Regions from separate parts of the Homo sapiens genome. Here region 1 is linked to region 2. Evidence: promoter capture Hi-C in 16 types of primary human blood cells and fetal thymus (Javierre and others, 2016). All regions are on one chromosome and are shown on one strand. Each heading gives the region's core, a stretch centred on a gene start or on the middle of the fragment in contact. The rest is flanking DNA. Distances are from core to core; before and after follow the strand shown. Region 1 overlaps VCL (vinculin). Region 2 holds the start of NDST2 (N-deacetylase and N-sulfotransferase 2).

Region 1 (2,700 bases), core at 16-2,515, 300 kb after region 2:
TCTCCTTTGGTTCCTGTGTTGCCAATAGCATATTCCTCTTCTTACCTGTGCTTTAGTGAGATGTTTCTGACACCTGATGGTTTCTCCTTCAAGCTTGCAAAAGCCAGAGTCAGGGTGCCTGTGATTTGAGAAGAGGATTCCTGTCCTTTGTCCATTAGAGTGCCAGGTGCCTTGACCTTAGCATTTGGGGTCTTTTAGAAATTGCTTATCTTTCTTGGAACTGCAAATGTTTTTAGATGCTACATTGCTAATGATCAGAGCTCCAAATATGAATTGTGTGGGCTGTGCTAAAGCTAGATGAAATGTTTGCATTTTCTTTTTTTTTCCACAGAAGCAAGTAGATTGGTATCTTAGAAGCCATGTGCTTTTGTCCTTTCTCAGAATCATTTCACCTGTCAACTCAAGACAGCTCCAGGCTGTCTCTTACTCAGCAAATCTGAAGGTGTAAATATTAATGTGGTTGGTAAAAATATGGATGCTACAGCAGTCTTGCCCTATGAATAACTTTTGCCTATTTTCCCCTAAATGATGAAAAGTGAGCAGTAGCTTTTCTAGATAAGAGGAATATTATTGCTAACCCTGCAGTGAAAGGTAGCTCTTAGTTCTAAACTGTTTCTAATATGACCCTAGATCTTTTTTTTAATGTTTTTATGACCCTAGATCTTTATTCCCACCACCTATTTGCCTTTATTCTTTACACATCCTCAAAGCTTTCAAGCTCTTGTGTCGATTGTATTTCCTCAGGGACCTCCTGCACCTGCAGCTGATCTTGGATTTTTTTCAGGCTGGGAAATTCACATTGGTTTTTAACTCTGTATTTTGCTGAACTGTTAGCTGTGAGCCCAGGTTCTAAGAAGGAAGGGAGACTTTGCTGGTGTTGGACCTGACCTGTAGAATTATTTATAATGGTATCTCTCCAACTGCATGTGGCAGAGCCCCACTGTGCATGGGGAGTGGGGGAGGGTGACAGTGAAGATTTTAAAGGAAATTTAAATTTCATTACAATGAACCAAAATACACTATGCAGAACAAAAAATATACATGAATTATTTAAAAAAACAAACAAACTTAAAAGCAGACAGCATTGGCCCACATTACTTGCCCCACTCTGCCATTTGTGGCCAGAAGTCCTGAGGTCTATCTCCTGAAGTGTGCAAGATCAGGAGTTTGCTGACTTTGAGTTGTGTGAAGTCAGAAGCTACTTGAACCATGTGTGTACTGGGCTGGGGAGGAATATCTGTTCGTGTGTCTGTCAACCTATCTGTCTTTGTACACTGTGGGACTCTGAGCCTTAGCAGCAGTGAGCTGGCTTTTCTTCTGAGCAGCAGAGATGGGTCTTGGTTGAGTTTAGGCAAAAGAGTTTAGATGGTATCTGAACCCCTTGTTGGCCCTGAATCCTCCAACATCGTCACCCTTTGGAGTCAGGTTTCATGTGCAGGTTAAGACTTTTAGGAGTGGTAACAACCTCAAAGAAAATTCCATATAAACTACTTCCTCTTGAGTACAGATGTTTGATGTAAAGAACCTGTATTCATCATTCTTTGTATAAATGGTTTGGCTTCATTGTGGCAGTTTTTAATTTTCTTTCCATGTTAGTCTATTTTCAGCATCTGGCTTTTATAATCTCCATCCCTGGTTCTAAATTCATGTTCTCTCCATCATGATTCTCATTCTTAAATGAGCACCATTCTTCTGAGCTTCTGTGAGCTCAGCTGCAGTCACTTGCCAAGTTCACATATTATTCTATCTGTGAACTAGATAAGCAGAGTTTGGGGTGAGTGAGAACCTATTTTGCAAGCAATTTAGGTTGTACCCAAGGAGAAGCTTTCTGAGGTGGTACTAGCAATGGATGCAAAAAGAGATGGTAGAAGCTTTGCCTCAGAAGACCTTGAGGGGATAGAGAGCTGGTCTGATGTGTGGGTGTTCCCTGAGATGGGCGGCTGACGAGGTGGCTTCTTGAGGCTCCTTACAGCTGGGTGACAGTGGGGTACTTAAGTTCTCTTCAGTCACCATTGTGTTTGTTTTTCCTGCCTCTTTCCTAGTTTGGTATTCGTTACCTCTGATGTATCATTTTTAATTCTGGGACTTTTAACTCATGAAGGAAATAATCTATGTCTGGCAGCTGCAGAGCTGACCCAAATTGCCTCCTGTGTCCCAGGAAAATGTAGAACAGTGACCATATGATCCAGCAGTGTTCACTTTGTTCTGTACAAAGTAACTTGTGTGGCTGCATTTACTTTTTCTCTCCGGATTCCTTTTAAAGGTAATTTGCTACTATCGTTTGGTTGTTTGGCTCCTCAGAAATATTCTCATGTGAGAATCACTCTTGTCAAGTTTGACTTTAGTATCAAGTATATTAAAGAAATGGATGCCACTTGCTTTCTTGGTGTAAAGATTTCTCTAGAAGCCCTTTGCCATTGGAGTGAGTCCCTTTTCTTCTCTCACCACACAGTGGCTTGGGCTGAGTGGCGCTGGAGGCTGAGAATTCCCCCTTCTGTGAAGCTTGGTACACAAGGCTCCTAGAGAACATGTTTCTTTCTCATCCTAGGCAGGCTTTGGTTACTAAACCAGCTGAAGCCCAGTTTCCCAAGTCGTATTGCTCTTACTAACACTATCCCTATTTCTCATCCTTCCCGCCATCGACAAAGCCGGGCATCCCAGCCGCTGAGGTGGGTATAGGTGTTGTAGCTGAGGCAGATG
Region 2 (2,700 bases), core at 10-2,509:
TCCCAGCTACTCAGGAGGCTGAGGCAGGAGAATCACTTGAACGTGGGAGGCGGAAATTGCAGTGAGCTGAGATTGTGCCACTGTACTCCAGCCTGGGTGACAGAGCTAGACTCCAGCTCAAAAAAAAATAAAAATAAAAATAAAAATAAAACAGTTCAGCTTTGGCCTAGGTAAAACGACACGAGAAGACAGCTGGGGGAGAGGATCAAAATGGTGACGGGAAGGGGTGAATGCTAAGAATGTGATGCAACTTTAGAGAAAACATTGTAGTGAGGAGGTCACTGACGGGAAGTTGATACTCAGGGTGTATCATCCCGTATTTGAGAAATTACAACTTGCCAGCCATTCTTCTAAGAGCTTCACATATATTTAATCTTCACACCAGCCCTAAGAGGTAGGGAAAAGGTACATGCTCCATTATCCCCATTTCACATATGAGTAACTCAGAGAAGCTTAGAACCTTGCCCAGGATCACACAGCTCAGTTGGTGGGAGGGCTGGGATTCGACGTCAGGCCTGTCAAGCTCCAGAGCCGCGTTCTTAGCCGCTGCATTTTAGCTTCATACCTGGAAGAAGCAGCAAGGTTTAGGGAAGGGGCGCCGGGAGCGCCGCAGGCCGGGCCAGTGAACACTGAGGGCCAGCAGGGCTGGGCGGGGTGGGTGTGTGCGGGAGATCTCTGAGGACGGCGAAGCCAGACGGGGGCCGGGGCCGGGCCCGGGCTTGGGGAGGCCGGGACGGCCGGAGCAGCGGCGCGGAGGCTGCGGGCGCCGAGGGGGCCCGGGGCTGGCGGGTGGAGGGGCCCCGCCGAGAGGAGACGGGGGCACAGGTGGATGCGAAGAGCGCACCGGATGTGGGACACCAAAGGGGAAGGGGCCACAGGCGCGCGGCGGCGACTCCGGGGTGACATCGAGACAGCCTCTGGGCTGGGAGAGCCCTGCGGGAAGAAGGGAGCCCGCCCGGTCCGGAGGGGAGCGAGGCGGTTCTGAGGGAGGCCGGCGGAAAGGACCCGGGGCGCGGCGCACGCTGGGCCGCCCGGGACGACCCTGCGGGTGGTGATGGTGGCAACATCCAAGGGAGTCTGTTGGGGGGGCCTGAGCGCGACCGTGGGCGGGGGGGTCTCCTCAGGGGCGGCTCACCCGGAGGACTGGGCGGCGTCCCCGCTGTCCCCGGGCTCCGCCGCGTCCCGGGGCTGCCCGGCTTCCCTGCTTTCGGGGCCACGGGCCGCGTCGCGGCTGCTCCGCCATCTCCGAGCGAACGCTCTGCCGCAGCCTGGCCCAACCACCGCTCCCACCGGGGGAGGCGGCGCGCCGCCGCTGGTGGCACCCGCTCGGATCCACCGGCTCCGGCCCTAGCAGCCGCGCGACCTGGGTTCCGGGAAATCAAGCGGCCCTCCGCAGTGCCGGGCCGAGCCGCGGCCTCCGAGACGGCGGGCTCCGCGCCCCGCCCGCGGAAGCGCACCCCCTCCTCTCCGCGCGATGGCACTGCCGGCCGAGCGTCGGGGACCACGACTTCGGAGCAGGGGCGGGCTCAGGCCTGGGCTCATCCACTCAGCCCCGCGGAGGGGGAGCCGGGCCGGCCCACTCGGGGGAGGGGAGGAGTAAGAGGCGGAGCGGCCTAACCGGAGGCGGGACCAGGGGCGGGGCGAGGCCCTCAGCCGGCTCCCAGGGCACTCACCCTCCCTCCCCGCCCCGCGTCGCCTGCGCAGCACCGAGCGCTGTTTGGAGGCTGTTTATGAGAAGTTTTTTTTTTTTTTTTTTTTTTTTTTTTTTTTTTTTGAGACGGAGTCTCACTCTGTCGCCTGGGCTGGAGTGCAGTGGCGCGACCTCGGCTCACTGCAACCTCCCCCTCCCAGGTTCAAGCGATTCTCCTGCCTCAGCCTTCCGAGCAGCTGGGATTACAGGCGCCCGCCACTATGCCCAGCTAAATTTTTTGTATTTTTTAGTAGAGACGGGGTTTCACCATATTAGCCAGGCTGGTCTCGAACTCCTGACCTCGTGATTCGCCCGCGTCGGCCTCCCAAAGTACTGGGATTACAGGCATGAGGAAGTTTTATTCTCAAAAGTACCCAAAGGGAGTAGGAGGAGGTACTCTCTCCAACCTGGTAAGCCAGGCTGCTAAAATCTACGCCTCTGGCCGTAAACCTCCAACAGCAGTAACACAATGGACTGTTTAAAGGTTATTTTATTAAATATTTTCAGTTCAAGGTTTCATTGTAACAAAGCTATGAAGGGTCTACCAACATTCAGAACAAACACTATTTTTAAATTATTTCTATGTTGTCATGCAAAAATTCTGCATCAAATGCCTTCCGTTTCTTGTTTAAAAGGTGATTTTTTAATAGTCTATTGTCTATAGATGCTGACATTAGCCCCAGAAGAGGAGTAAGAATGCTAAGAAGTGGGGCTGGAGCAGCCATATGAAGCTATGGGTCTCAATGAATTCTAAGACCATTTGTCTTCAAGCCAGCAAAACGAAACCCTGTGGTGAAGGGATTTGCGTGCTGGCACTGCAGACTGCAGGGCAGGAAAGGGCTAGGGCCCAGGGGCTGGGACATGCATGAGGTGCTCGGAGGAGCCTGGCTAAATCCAAGCACCAGCACCTGTGAGTCTGCTCTCTTCTCAGCTGGCTCCCAAGTAAACCTGTAGCTTTGCCTCTTCTCCCAGCTCTCGTGCCTCCTGAAGGTAGTCCAGGGAACTGGAAT

The links. The method cuts DNA at HindIII sites, captures the fragments that hold promoters and counts their contacts. A CHiCAGO score of 5 or more calls a contact.
Region 1: a contact is called between a fragment that was not itself captured here and the fragment with the promoter of NDST2 in region 2, in 1 of 17 cell types (M0 macrophages). The highest score is 5.2, in M0 macrophages.

The regions. Positions count from the first base shown.
Region 1 is chr10:74,109,261-74,111,960 of GRCh38, forward strand. VCL (vinculin) reads left to right here. Exons shown (of 22, transcript NM_014000.3): 19 at 2,649-2,700. Among named protein-coding and RNA genes, the nearest start is that of AP3M1, 40 kb to the right of the region's middle. The HindIII fragment of the contact is 1,114 bases long and covers 709-1,822 here.
Region 2 is chr10:73,810,339-73,813,038 of GRCh38, forward strand. NDST2 (N-deacetylase and N-sulfotransferase 2) reads right to left here and starts at 1,260. Exons shown (of 15, transcript NM_003635.4): 1 at 1,136-1,260; 2 at 461-565. CAMK2G (calcium/calmodulin dependent protein kinase II gamma) reads right to left here. Exons shown (of 23, transcript NM_001367534.1): 23 at 2,163-2,700. It overlaps NDST2-ZSWIM8-AS1 (NDST2-ZSWIM8-AS1 readthrough), which reads right to left and starts at 1,482. Exons shown (of 18, transcript NR_182658.1): 1 at 1,136-1,482; 2 at 461-565. RefSeq lists silencers at 695-764, 1,065-1,774. The HindIII fragment of the contact is 9,520 bases long and covers 451-2,700 here.